Linked DNA regions of Homo sapiens: region 1 is linked to region 2. The links are contacts of gene promoters, found by promoter capture Hi-C in blood cells and fetal thymus (Javierre and others, 2016). All regions are on one chromosome and are shown on one strand. The core of a region is centred on a gene start or on the middle of the fragment in contact, and the rest is flanking DNA. Distances in the headings are between cores, read along the strand shown.

What was found. Contacts are between HindIII fragments. The CHiCAGO score rates a contact against its expected background, and 5 or more counts as called.
Region 1: a fragment that was not itself captured here is called in contact with the fragment with the promoter of MRPL23-AS1 in region 2 in 1 of 17 cell types (endothelial precursors); the score reaches 5.4 in endothelial precursors.

What each region holds. Positions count from the first base shown.
Region 1 is chr11:1,841,935-1,849,055 of GRCh38, forward strand. It overlaps LOC107984299 (a long non-coding RNA gene), which reads left to right and starts at 2,403. Exons shown (of 3, transcript XR_001748095.2): 1 at 2,403-2,439; 2 at 2,799-2,896; 3 at 4,630-5,813. RefSeq lists an enhancer at 2,686-2,785. The HindIII fragment of the contact is 1,331 bases long and covers 4,742-6,072 here.
Region 2 is chr11:1,987,210-1,994,158 of GRCh38, forward strand. MRPL23-AS1 (MRPL23 antisense RNA 1) reads right to left here and starts at 2,711. Exons shown (of 4, transcript NR_024471.1): 1 at 2,617-2,711. It overlaps LINC01219 (long intergenic non-protein coding RNA 1219), which reads left to right and starts at 3,887. Exons shown (of 3, transcript NR_126400.1): 1 at 3,887-4,050; 2 at 4,729-5,071; 3 at 6,046-6,260. It also overlaps a transcript of MRPL23 not described here. RefSeq lists enhancers at 1-4,600, 1-535, 530-4,600. The HindIII fragment of the contact is 17,986 bases long and covers 1-6,949 here.

The sequences.
Region 1 (7,121 bases), core at 4,157-6,656, 140 kb before region 2:
GGCCTGGGCACATCCAACATGCAGGGCTGGGGATGGAGGCTGTGGGACCGAGCCAGGTCTGGGTGGGAGTTCCTGAGATAAGTGGGTCTCACATTTGCACAGCCACGCAAAGGCCCTCCCGGGGCTCCAGAGAGATCCACACATGTGACACACGTGTGGCCCCCGCAGTGCTGGGGGCAGCCCCCTATGCCTCCCAAGCTGCCCCTCCTCAGGGAGCTCATCTGAGGCAGGAAGCCAAGGGCCACATTAGACCCCAGGCTGCTGTCCACGCGTGCCCACCCCCAGATCCTCCTGCTCATCCCCCTCCCACATCACTTTGGGACAGACCCCCAGCCCCGGGGCCTCCCTGCTTTTCCTATCTGCCCCCTGCCCTGAGCACTGAGGCTGGGCACGGGGAGCGTGGAGGGGCGAGCCTGCACGGTGGGCCATGACCAGGCCAAATTGGCAGTCTCCGGGCTGGGGACCAGCATGGTGCTGGGGGTTGGCCAGCCTGGTCTCTGGTCCTTACTGCCACCCTGAAAGGCAGGCTGTGTCACTCCTCACCATGCCAGGGGACCAAGAGACCTGTGCCCATCAGGCAGGGGCTAGGCCTGGCCCTGACCTGGCTCCAGTGTGGCTCCCAAGTCTCGTTTCCACTCAGCCCCAAGACCCAGCCCCATCTGGCCACCAAGGACAAGGCAGCTGACAGGTTCTGACAAGGCCGGTGACAGCAAGGCCACGTTATCAGCCCTGCTCTTTGAAGGCTGACAGAGCAGGCACGCCAAGGTCCCTGTGCTCAGATCTGCGCTGGGGAGGCTGCCAGCCTGCGCTGTGCCCTTGCCCCCGGGAGGTCCCATCGATTGATCTGCCGGAGGTGGACGTGCAGCGGCAGTTCCGCCTCGGGCTGCCTTGAGGGACTGACGTCAGTGGGCTCCCGGGACGGCCTTGGCTGTGTGCAGTCCCCTGCTTCCCGGGTACCCTACAGCCCTGGCACTCAGCTCTGACCTTTTCTGTAGCTGGAGCCCCACGCCAGTCCGAACCCCCCACCCGGGCCTTCTCCTTTAGCCTTCTGTAGGGGAAGGCACCGAGCAGGGCAGCTTGGGGCCAAGGGGGCACTGCCTGGTGGGTGCAGCTGTGGCAGAGGTGCATGGCACCCCATGCCAGAATGATGGGACCAGGCAAGGCCCAGGGTGTAGGAGGCCATGAGGCACAGAAGTGAGGCCCGAGACCTGGCCTGTCGGGGGGAAGCTGCCCAAGCCCAAGCCTCAGCTGAGACCTGAGGGAGGACAAGTGTGGAGGCAGAGGGTGCTGCAGGCTGGAGCACGTCCCATGCAGAGCCAGGCAGGCAACAGGCAGAGCGAGGGACAGGCGGCGGTGGGGCCTGGCCATGGACCCCTTGCAGGGGACATGGCACCTTTCCAGAGCCTGTGCCTACTGGGAAAGGGGGCGGGACCCAATCCCACAGGGCGTCAGGGGGGTGTGGCAGAGGAGTTGGGGCAGGCGCATCACACCTGGCTGCCAACCACAAGATTCAACTTGGCCGGGGCAGACACGCTGTGTGGGAAAATTATCTTTTTTATTTCAAAGCAAGGAAATGTTGAACACAAACACGAAATTCCAAAGAGTGACCCTCTGGGGTGAGTGGGGTGGGGGCAGAGCAGGGGCAGAATGGAGACAGGACCCCTACGCTGATGCAGGTTTGGGGGATGTTTTAATTCTTGGGCTGGATAGTAGATGCACGGGTGTTTGTTAAATTTCCAATAGATGAGTGAATGAGTAAATGAAGGAGTAAGTGAGAGGCCTGCGGAAAGCAAACCAGCAAATATCAAACCGGCGCCCCTCTGAGCCCGGCTCCGTCCCTCTCGGGTGATTCTGGTGTCCCTGCTGGAAGTGAGGCCTGCAGCCAGTACCCCATGGGGCTGTCCCCCAGCTCTGCATTCTAGAAAGGCCTCAGCAGGGTGGAGCACAGCGGAAGTCACCGCTGGGTTGGGGGGTGAGGAATGGAGACGTGGAAGGGGCCGGGTCCCCAGGACTTGTTGGCTGAGGGACATGAGGAAGGCAGGCACCTTGCTGGGGGCACGGGTGGGCAGAGACTGTTCTCCAGGGCAGGAGCCGTGAGAAAGTGGCCTTGGGAGGAGGTGAGGCACTCACTTTGGGGCTGCTGGGTTTGGGGGCCCTGTGGAAATTCCGAGGGGAGACCTGGCCCAGGCAGCTGGAGCAGGGGCTGGGCTGGAGATGTGGATGTGGGTGTCCTGGGTGGTGAGCCGATGGGCAGAGGTGCCTAAGGCCAGGGCGAGAGGAGACGAGGGGGAGGGTAGGGACAGCCAGGGCAGCCGGGGCAGGCACCATGAGCCCCAGGGGAGTCCCGGAAGAGGAGGGGGACAGGCCCAGGGCAGGGGTTGTGGGCAGCCCTGTGCGTGGCTCTGGAGGTCGGGGAGGACATGGCCTCTGAAGTCCCAGGTAACCCGTGCTGGGCTGTGGCCAGGAAGGGGTTGGGGAAGACTGGGCACAGCGGGCCAAGGAGGGAGGGGTGGGAGGAAGTGCACGGGGCACCCCTGGAAGTTGCGGCTGCTGGAGACAGAAGGCAGGGGTTCCTCGGGGGAGGCAGAGGTGGGTGCTTCTGCACACGCGGGTGTTTCCTGCTCTGCCGCTGAGCCACTGACATGCAGACACCCCAGTGTCCAGGAGCAAACCGGGCCCCAGGCTCTGCTCCCTAAAACCGTCCTCCCCTGAAGGACCCAGGGCTCCTCGGAAGAGAGGTTGACTGCAGGGTGGGGCAGGAAACGTGCAGGAAGAGCCTGACATGTCCTTTCTGCTAGGAGGCCGTGGTGACGCAGAGGGCCTGCCCTGTGCCCCCGCTGATGGGAGCGGCCATCAGGACACAGACCGGCAGACAAGATAACAAGCAGTGTCCGCGGTAAATGTGCTCAAGTTCATAGTTACACAAAACAACATCTGCATTCCAAGGAAACAGACCTTAAAATCTTCAGGAGGAAAGGAGGGAGACAGAGAGACAGAGAGACAGAGGCAGAGAGACAGAGACAGAGACAAACAGAGACAGAGAGACACAGAGACAGAGACACAGAGACAGAGACAGAGAGACAGAGACAGAGACACAGAGACAGAGACACAGAGAGACATGGAGACAGAGACAGACAGAGGGACACAGAGACAGAGACAGAGAGACACACAGAGAAAGACAGAGAGATGGAGAGACACAGAAACACATAGAGAGAAACACAAAGAGAGACAAAGAGGCAGAGAGAGGGCAAGAGACAGAGGGACACAGAGACACAGAGGCAGAGAGGCAGAGAGACAGAGACAGAGGCAGAGAGAGAGACAGAGACAGAGAGACAAGAGACATAAAGACAGACACAGAGGCACAGAGGCAGAGAGGCAGAGGCAGAGACAGAGAAGCAGAGAGACAAAGGCACAGAGGCAGAGAGACACAGACAGAGGCAGAGACAGAGAAGCAGAGAGACAAAGACACAGAGGCAGAGAGACACGGACAGAAGCAGAGAGAAAGAGACAGAGGCTCAGAGAAACAGAGAGGCTGAGAGGCGGAGAGGCAGGGGTCGAATGGCAAAGTGGACATGTGCCCTGGGTGAGGGGGGTACAGAGGCACCTTGTCAAATTCTTATTCTTGAAACTTCTCTGTGGGTTTGAAATGACTTCCCCCAAAGCTAAACTTTTCTTTGAACGTTAAAGCAATACAATTCGTAAGCGACAACAAAAACAGATGACATGAAAAATACCACAAGTTAACAGAGAGGACCTCACAGGGCTCAGGTGTGGGCAGAAAGGTGCCCCAGAGGGTGTGGGGGACTTCGGGGTGGTGGAGGAGGCTGAGGACTGTGTGTGTGCCCCTGGCTGAGGGCCGAGGGCGGGGCTGGGTGCCAGGCCCCCGGGGACACCTTGGTTAGGGTTAGGGTTAGGGTTAGGGCCAGGGATCCAAGGCTGGAAAGTTGCCTTTCAGGGACTGCAGGAGGGAGGCCCGGTGCCCTGGCCATGCTGGGCGCTGGGTGGAGCTAGGATGAGGCAGGTCACGGGGCTTCATTCTCTCCGCAGGGCTGGACTCAGAGGGGGCTTCCCCCTGACCTTCACCCCCTCACGCACTCGATCAAGGGGAAGCCAGGAGTGGGGTCCCAGAGGGGGACACAGAGTTCCCCCATGAATGTCCACCTGCTGGACCCCCTGTGTGGTCCTCAGGGGTTCCCTGGGCCTCCACCGAGGGGCCCCCGGATCAGGGCTGGGCTTCACCCTCTCTCTCCAGCTGCACCTCACCCCTGACCTGTGCAGCCCTGTGTCCTTTTTGTTCCCCTGGCACCGGCTGTGCCTGGGCCCAGACCCACCTTTGCAGGCCGGTGCCTGGCTCCAGCCATCCTTGGAAAGCTGAGTCCGGCGCTTGCCAGGGCCTCACCACCCCCACTCCTCCGGCTCCGGCTCTCCCCAGACAGCCCTGGAGCCCAGGGTTAGAGCTGCCTCTGTGGCTCAGCCCCCACTCCACCCCAGTGGGCTGCCCAGCCTTAGTTTACCCAGATGTACAATGAACATGGAGATGAGAGCGCCTGCCTCACTGGACCACCAGGTAGGCAGGGACCCAGCTGGCACCTCCTGCCTCCCTAAACTCCTCTCCTATGTGCCCCCCAGAGTCAGCCCGACTCTCCCCCAGCCCCAGCAAGGCCTGGCTCGGCGCCCTGGACCACCCAGCTGCTGAATATCACACCAGGACCACCAAGCCTGCCTCTGCCCCAGGCCTGGAAGCTTCTCCCCACTCTCCCTGTGGCCATCTCCTTCACACCCTTCAGTTCCAGCATGGTCACCTCCTCCGTGAAGCCCTCCGTGAGTCCCCCAGCCATCTCTGTGACTTCTCCTGGTTATTTTCCAGAATGACCATGGACTTGTTTTTTCATTTGTTCACTGTCCGTCTCTTCCTCTGGGAGGGAAAATCCACGAAGTCAGGGACCTGGAGTTATTTGCAGCTGTGTCAGTGCTGCTGGGGCGAGGCATACACCTGTGACGGGACCTCAGGACGGGGACACGGGTCTGCATGAGGATTGTCTAACAGTCCCTACAAGACGCTGGGGCCACCATGTACACTGGAGTCCTCTGGCAGCCAGTGTTCCCCGTTGTGCGGGGCTGGCCGTGACCACGCTGGAAACCCCCCGATCCCCTTGTTGCTCCTGCCCTCCTGCAAGCACCTCCGCCGCCTCGACAAGCACAGCCTGGCCCCAGGGCCTCTCCCTCCCCTGGCCCCAGTCACCCCTACCTCCTCACCACCCCCTGTCATCTCCCATTGCTCCCCCTCCTTGCCAAGCTGCTCCTGACTCCCTGTCCCCTCCTCGAGCCATCGGGAAGGCCTGCGTCCTGGCAGGCTCCAGTCTCTGCGGCTGCCCCTCCGGCAGGCCGCCGAGAATCAGCGCGGCATTGGGCCAGGCACGGTTTCCACGAGCTTCCTCCTTCTGATCCTCCCCTCCGCCCCCCCCACCAAGCTCCCCAAAATCTCTCACTCACACCCCAAATCACCTGGGCCCCCCACCTCAAACCAGAGGCCATCGGGGCAGAACCCAGCAATTGTCACCGCCCTCTCACGAAGCGTCCCGTGCCCCCCGGAGCACATGTCCACAGCGAGGCCCTTCACGGCTCTCAGATCAGCTCCCCGCCTGCAGGTCCCAGCCGGCCCTGCTGTCGCTGCAGGTTGAGCTTCTCATGAGTGAAGGCCCCGGTCACTCTGACGCCGCCAAATAGTGGAGACAACACCAAGCTCTAAAGATTTTCAAAGGGAGAGAGACAAAAAAAAATGAAGGCCAGGTGTGGTGGCTCACACCTTTAATCCCAGCACTTTGGGAGGCTGCGTGGGGAGCCTCGAGCTCAGGAGTTCGGGACCAGCCTGGGCAACAAAGTGTCTCTACAAAACAATATGAAAATTAACCGGGTGTGGTGGTGTATGTCTGTGGTCCCAGCTAGGGAGGTAGAGCTAGGCTGAGGCAAGAGGACTGCTTGAGCCCGGGAGGCAGAGGTTGCAGTCAGCCCAGATCACGCCTCTGCACTCCATCCTGGGCAGCAGAGCAAGACTCCATCTCAAAAAATAAAAGCTTTGAGAATTTAAAGAAAGAAAAAAAGAAGAAGAAGGCCAGGCTGATGACTCACGCCTGTAATCTCAGGATTTGGGAAGACCAAGGTGGGCGGATCACTTGAGGCCAGGAGTTTGAGACCAGCCTGGGCAACATAGCAAAACCCTATCTCTACAAATTAAAAAAAAAAAATAAAGTAAAAACTAAAAGCAAACAAAATAAATAGCCAAGCTCTCCGACCCAAGGCCTTTTGTGCCGACCGACGCCCATCTTCTCTGACCTGGCCCATGTCTCTTTGCGCCTGCTGGAGAGCTTCTTCCACTCTCAGCTGGCCCTGAACCCTGGGCTCCCCCAGTACTGCCTCCCCACCCCGCCTGGCCTGTCCGCTCTGCTAGGGGCAGCTGTCTGGTCACTGCCCTCTCCTGGCATCCCTCCGATCCACCCGGCCCCCTCGAAGCCTTCCCTGCCCCTTTCCTGTCTGTCTCTGTCCCCGTTGAGAGCTTCTCTTCCTCACTCTCTTCACTCCTGGGCCAGATTCCCAAGCTCACCAGTGGCCACGGCCAGTGGAAGGAAAGGGGCCGAGTGACCCCAGCTCGCGTGCAGGGAGAGGGCACAGCCCCCAGCTTTGCTCCCCACAGCAAACCCCTCCAGCACCTGCGTGTGCCCACAGAGTGATTTGCCAGGGAGGGGCGCTGCGGGATGGCCTGTACTGCGGGACGTCCTTTCCAGCCCATGGTGCCAGCACACAGCATCTCCTGCCCAGGCCTCTCCCTGCTCGGCTGGGACTTCTACACGCACCTCCAGCCTGCTACACAGGTCCCAACCCCCGGCTTCTCCCCTCAAATCCAGGTCTGCACCTCTCAGACATCTGCCTTGTGGCCTCTGCACCTGGAGTGTCCCTGTGTCCTGCCCGCCTGGCACAGAGCTCCTCCTGGCTCACCCCTCAAGGCTTCCCTGCTTGGCTCCATCCCCCGGAATCTGATGCCCTCAGCTGGCTCCATCCCAGAATCCAAACTAACTCATCACCTGATGCAGCCGCTTGCTGGTCCCCGTGCTGCTCGCTGGACC
Region 2 (6,949 bases), core at 1,461-3,960:
AGCCAGAGAAGGCATGCTGGGCTGGGCTGGGCTGGGGTGGGCAGGGCTGAGCTGGGCAGGGCAGGGCAGGGCTGGGCTGGGCAGGGCTGGGCAGGGCAGGGCAGGGCTGAGCTGGGTAGGGCAGGGATGAGCTGGGCTGGGCAGGGCTGGGAAGGTCAGGGCTGGGAAGGGCAGGGCAGGGCAGGGCAGGGCTGGGCTGGGCTGGGCTGGGCAGGGCAGGACAGGGCTGGGCTGGGTAGGGCAGGGATGAGCTGGGCTGGGCAGGGCTGGGAAGGGCAGGGCTGGGCTGGACTGGGCTGGACTGGGCAGGGCTGGGCAGGGCCGGGTGGAGTGGGCGATGGTGTCCATCCCGCTTAGTGGCTTCCTCTCACAGGAAGTCTGACCACCCTTCAATGCTGGGGGTCTAGGCTGGGCAGGTGGACGTGGGGGTCCATTTCTAGGCTCTAGACCCAAGGCCTTCCTGCTGCTCAGAGGTTCCTAGGCTCAGCAGAGAGGGCGGGGACAGAAGGTCCGAAATTCCATGTCCTTGGGATCCCATCTGCCCGTCCTTCCCGCCCAGCCCAGCCCAGTCTGTCTGCTCCCCAGCCTCCCACGCCCCCCATTGGCGTGCATGAGTGACATGCGTGTCCCGCACACCCTCGGTCCTGTTGTCCATCTCCCCCATCGCCCGCACACCCTCGGTCCTGTTGTCCATCTCCCCCATCGCCCGCACACCCTCGGTCCTGTTGTCCATCTCCCCCGTCGCCCGCCACCCACGCCGTCCCCACTGCCTTAGGCTGGCTGCCCCTTTGGACAGGGGCTTTGTCTACCCAAGTCACAGGACACGTGAAATTCAGCCTTAATTAAGTTGTTGGGTGATGGAGTCCCAGATGTGGGAGGCTCAGCCAGACCCTCTTGGGCTGCCCACCCGGAGAGCGACTGGGGCTGAGAGCCTCGCCTGGGGCCACTGTGCAGCTGCCGCCTCCCGCCTCCCACCTCCCGCAAAGGCCTGGGAGTGGGGCCCAAGGCAGCTGCAGCCCCACAGCCTGGCCTTGACCCTGGGCTGCCCCACAGCCCCCCTGCTGGCTCCGTGCCCACTGGGAAAACAAGCTCCTTATCTCGAATGCTTCCTGTGAACTGCAAACAGCCACGTGTCCCTTGGGAGCCACTCTTGATGAACGTGCCCTCTGTCCCACGACCCAGGGTGAGGCCGTTCACCCTCGGGCTGGGGGCCACCGGGACTGGAGGCTCTAGGCCTGGAATGAGGGGAGGGGACCTGCGGCAGGGCAGAGCCAGGCTGGAGACCACTGCATTGGGAGGGTGAGGAGGGAGAGGAGGGGGCAGGAGGGTTTGGGTCCAAGGCCTGGTTGCACAGGACAGCTGGGGATGGGGGAGAGGGGCACAGGCCAGAAAGGCTGGGGCTGCGGGGGCTAGCTAAGAGGCGAGGGTTCTGGGTGGCAGCAGCAGGCAGGGACCTTCCCGGCGGCCCCAGTGGCTCCCTCCCTCCCAGAACCCTTTCTCCTTCCTTGGGCCTAGAGCTTCCTCCACGTACTTTTCCCCGCCCCCGCCTTTCCCCTCTCTCTCACCCCGCTCAAACATGCTGTGACCTTTCCAGGGCCCCTGGACATCACTCACTGGGTGACAGAGGTTGACAGGCATGGAGCTAAGGAATGGGAGGCAGGGCGGGGGCGGCCAAGCCTCTCCAGCCGCTCCCTTCCCGCTTGCCCCACAGACGGGCCTCCCTGGATGGTCCTGGGTCAGCACACACGCTCCCAGGCGCTTCCTTCCCCAGGAGACAGTCCCCAGCCCCTGGCGGCCCAGATCCTCCTGCTCAGGCCGACGCATCCCACCTGGGCCCCAGAAACCTCTTTGGAAAGGGACAGTCACCTCAGAGTGGCAAGCACTTAAAAGAGACCCCCAACAGGCCGGTGTGTCGTGGTGGCAGGCAGGGTGTGTCTGGAGAGAAGGGGGACGTGTCCCCAGCTGGGCCTGGGGGCGGCTCCGTGGGAAAGTCCCACCTGGTCCCAGCCCCGGGTCTCCAGCCTTCAGACTCCTTGGGGGTCTCTGTGGCCTGGCAGAGGTCGGTGGCCCCTCAGTGGAGGTGAGGCCTCTCCTGGGTCACCACCGCACACCGGCCTGCTGGGAAGCTGGGGTTCTGGGCCACAGCCGGCCCTGGACGTGGAGGGGGGCATCAGGCCAGACCCCCCAGGGGCTCACAGGGCTCTGGGAGGCCCTGGCAACCCCAGGGTGCCCCCAAGCCCTCAGAAGGGTTGTCCCTACTTGGAGGGGACCACACAGCCAGGTGGGCAGGAACAGGCACCACGGCGGCCCTTCCCTGTCCACCCTCTCACCAGTGGCCCGCAGTGCAGTCCAGGAAGCACCGGACAGAGCACGGGGCAGGGAGGGGAGGCCCGTACTGGCTTCACAGAGGTCTGGGAGGGGCTAGCCCCTGTGCAGACAGACCCCTGAAGCCTAGAGCCGCCGGCCCAGCTGAGGTCCTTCCCAGGGGCCATTCTGGGACCCCTGACCCCATGCACCTGTGTCACAGGGCTATGAGCGCCCCCAGCCCCAGGACCTCCACGTTTCTCTCTAGAGGGAAGAGGAGGAGGACGGCAGGCCTGCTGGCCCCACACTTACTGGTTGGGGACGCTCAGAGGGGGCAGCCGCCATGCCGGGAAGTTAGGGTGGGCAGAGGAGCAGCGGTGCCAGGACCCCCAGGCCATGCTGCCACCCCGGACCCTGAACAGTGGGCTAGTGTGTGGGCCTGGGGAGTGAGGGCCCAGGCCGGGCTGGGTCTCGCTCCATAAACCCTGGCTGGCCGGAGCTGCAGACATCACTGTTGACACAGGGGTGATGTCACTGCCGGCCAATGGGGAGACCCTCGGGGGCCCTACGTGTGCCTCTCTGTGCTCCCAGGGCCCCCGCCACGCACGCCGCCTGCTCTGAATGCTGCCTGCATAAACCGGTTTTTCTAAATGTCTTTGGGGCCCTGCTTGCCCCCTGGGCCCCATCTCCTGCTCATCCCACCCCACCCTTGGGCCCAGCCTATGAGCCAAGCGGGAGTGGGGAGTGGCGGAGAGCCCTGGGCCTGCCCGCTCCCACAGGCATGTGGGCCCCAGAGCCCTGACCCCTGCACCTTCACCTCGCCAGCCTCTCTCCCATCTGCCACGACCCCAGCTGCCACCATGGCTCCCCACAGTCACCCCTGGGCCGTCTCTTCCTCCTGTCGGGAGAATGTTCCTCCTGGGAGAGCCTGAGGCCCCCTCTCTGCTCCTTGCTCCCCCGTCTGTCTCCCCTGCCCTGCCTTGCAGCCCTGCCCTGGGTCCATATGCTCAGAGCTGGCTACATATCCTGTGGCTGCCCATGACACATAGCTCCCCCAGGCAGGGCCGGACCCCGGGCACCTCTTTGCCTCCAGGGCCGGCCCCACTCTGTTGGAGGTCAGCCGGTTCCGAGGCCTCCAAGCCGCCTTTCTACTTCTCGATTCCAGGGCCTGGTCTCCACTCCCTCTGGGCTTTGGGGTGCATGCTGCAGTGCAGCCTCCCCGCGCCCCGGCCTCCATGCACCCTGCTCGTGCTGCCTCAGAGGCTTGGCATCTCCCCCATCTTCCAGCCAGGCAGCCAGTTTTCTGCAACGTGGGGCCCACGGTCAGCGTCCCCCACAGCCCTGCCAGCCCTTCTCCCCGGGGGTCCGCCCTGCACCCCCTTCCCAGGAGCTTGCTCTGCACCCACTGCTGGGCCTCCTGGCCTAGGGGCTTGGCACGTGCCTGTGAGCAGAGGCGCTGGGCAGGAGGAGGAGGAGGAGCCTGCAGTGCCTGGCGCCCGTGTGTGTTTACTGGTCCGGCCCCAGCCCCGCGCCGCTCCCCGCGGACCCGGCCTCCCGCCTGTGTCCAGCCAGGTGTTGGGTGATGGAGCGGGGCTCCCTAAGGACAAGGAGCACAGTGTCTGCTTTCTTTGCAAGCACAGTGCTGACAAGGAACAGAATACCCACAGCGACTGCTTCCAGGAAACGGCTGCAGGGCGGGCGGGAGCCTCTGCGAGAGCAGCCCCTTCCCAGCAAGCCGGCCTGCAGGTGGGCTTCCAGGAAGGGGCCCCCGCTGGCTTCCCTCAGCCCTGGAAGGGGGCCAACGGTGTCACCAGGAGCAGGCCAGGGAGCGGGGTAGAGGGGGGAGAAAGAGAAAGGAGAGGCGCGGAGGAGGGAAGGAGGGACGGGGCGCAGGCCTATGCTATGCCTAGTGTGGTTACCACAGCCTTAAGGGAGAGCAAGGCTGACCACAGCTCCTTCTCGAACCTTCCAATCCCCCTTTTGAGAAGTCACAAGATCTCCACTCAGGTCTTTGGCTCTCTGGGGCTTGTCAGGCATCACACACACACACACACACACACACACACACACACACACCCGTGCACACCCATCTGAAAACACAAGCAAGCTGGGCCACTGGGGGAGACCATTCCCTGAGACCCAGCCGGGGTCCAGGTTGAGGGGCTGACCTCCTGGCCCCCATGTTGGGAGGGCCGAGGAGGGCCCCCGCCCGGACCCACTGCGCCCTTGGCTCTGAGTGCTCAGATCCCACCCCCATCTCTAGAGAGGAGGAAATCATTTATCTTCCTGGGAGCTCGGGGTCGGGGAGAGGGGGCTGCCCTCCTTGAGTCCCCGACTGTTTTCTTTGAGACTTCCCAGGGTGCATTGTAGTCAGACCCAAAACATCGCTTTGTCCCTGTTGAAGGGACTTCACTTCCTTCGTAGAGTTGGGATTTTCTGTCTCCATTCGGTGGTATACCAAGTGCCTGCCTCCCACACCCAGCTGCCCCTAATCCCTGCCTGAAAACGTGCTCCTGGGTCACGGAATTCATGCTGAGACACAGCCACACACAGCCAGGCTCAGGGGTCCACCCTCCAGGGAACACCACCCCGCTACAGGGCCACGATCACACACACACCCCGCGGAGCATCTCCGGGCCGGACAGGACCCACGCCCTCCACAGCCCGGAAAGGCGGGTTAACTGGTCAGCATGCAGAGACCCACCAAGTGGAGACCCCGCTCCCAGGCACAGACGCACAGCTGTGGATGCACGTCCTCGGTGACAAGGTAGCTGAGGTCGCGTGCCCCGGGTGTGTACGGCCCACAGAGCCACAGGGGACTCGCCAGGAGATGCGTGCACCGAGGGTCCAGCGTGGCCACAGCAGCAGCACGCGCCTCAAGTCCTCTTCTCTAACTGGATGACTTGGTCTTCACTCAACCTAAACGTGCCGCAGAAACTTGGGTGGGTGGAGGGTCTGGGTGTGAAGACCTCGGTGCCTAACAGGGTCTGGGACGTGGCCAGAAGCCAGGGCACCCTCAGGGTCTCCCTGAACGGTGGAAGTTCCTCCCTCCCCAGATTTCCTGGCACCTTTGCAGGCAGCCACAACCCTCACCCCGGCCCCGCCACCCCCATGTTGGGGTTTGGGAGTGAAATTCCAGCCCGTTTGCTTCTCCGCACTGAAGTCAGTGCAGGGGCGTTTTCAAAGTGCCTTTGGGTGTTGGGGTGCCTGGAGCCTGTCTAACAACCCTCTCTAAGCCCCTTTTCTAAAAAGCAGGAAATCGGGTTGGGCCAAAGATAAACACACATTCCAACCTGGCAGGTCGCTCAGAGCTAGGGGCTCGGGCGGGCTCCCAGCCCCCGCCCCGGGGTGCGGCAGGAGGCTCCGAGGCTGAGCACCTGCTGCGGGGCCCCCGGGCCTGTGGCTCCCCGCCTGCCCGCCTCACCCTGAGGTTCAGCCCCCTGAACGCTGCCCCCACCACCTCCCTGTTTCAGGGCCTGTGGCCCAGACCCCCTCCAGCACTCAGGGGCTGCCCTAGGGACACCACCCCAGGAACTGCCCTAGGAAGCCCGTTCCGCTGCAGGGAGCAGAGAAACCTGGGCTGCCCAGAGGTAGGCGCTGCCCCTGAGTACACGTCCTGCTCTCAGGGGGCAGCCAGCGTGGGCACAGCCATGGGCAGTGCTGGGAGATGGTGGGGGCCACCAAGAGGCCTGTGTCCCTTCCCCAGCGGGTGTGAGGAGGAACAGCCCTGTCCCCATACAGCTCCCAGGTGGAAACTCCAGAGCAAGCGTGTCATTCATACACCCCGGGCCCAGAGATGTGGACGTGTCCAGCACGCCTGTTCTCTCCAAGTGACCAGGAGGAGACAATCCCTAGGAGCTGACACAGGTGACGAAGGCCCGAGGTGGCCCGCCTTTTCCCCCGGCCCCATTCCCATGTGTCCTTCCCCAGGCAGGGATTTGAAGTGGGCAGAGTCTTCCATGTTCTCCAGGAGAGGTTTTCTGGGTGCCCCTCTCCCCCTCCCTACGGTTCCCCTGCCCCGCCACCCTGGGCACCCCTGGGGCTGCCTGCCGCACCCTGCAGCCGCCACCTGGGGAAGCCGGCTTTTATCTCCTGAGCCCTGCTTTGTAAACCTCCTGCAGAGTTGGATGTTTATAATAAAGGCCGTTTATAGACCTAACTCTTGACATGTAATGGATGGGTTACTTCATCCTGCCGGCCAAAACCCACTTGGGTAAGTCAAATTGGCCTGTAGGGTCAGGAAGATGAATGCGGCCTCACCCTGGGCTGGCCCCAGCGACCTCTGACCTCCTCCATGAGATGGCAGCCAGTCCCAGGGGCACCATCCCAGAGACTTCAAGAGACTCCCTCACCGGATGTCTACATGCATCCTGGGGGGTGACCACCCGCCCAGGTTTTAGCACACAAGTGTGTCCCTGGAAACCCCTCGGTCTCTGACAGTCCCCAGGGCCCACAGCTGGATGGGGAGGGGGCAAGAGAGGGTGCAGAGGGGAGGCCAGACCCAAGGGACGTGGGGAACCACCCTGCTCTTCCGCCCTGGACACCAAGACCCCAAGGGCGGCTGGGCCGGTAGGGGAGGGGCGTCCCTAACCGCCTTCCTGTCTGTTCTTTGTCAGTCGGGGAGGAATTTTCCTGACAGCTCTGT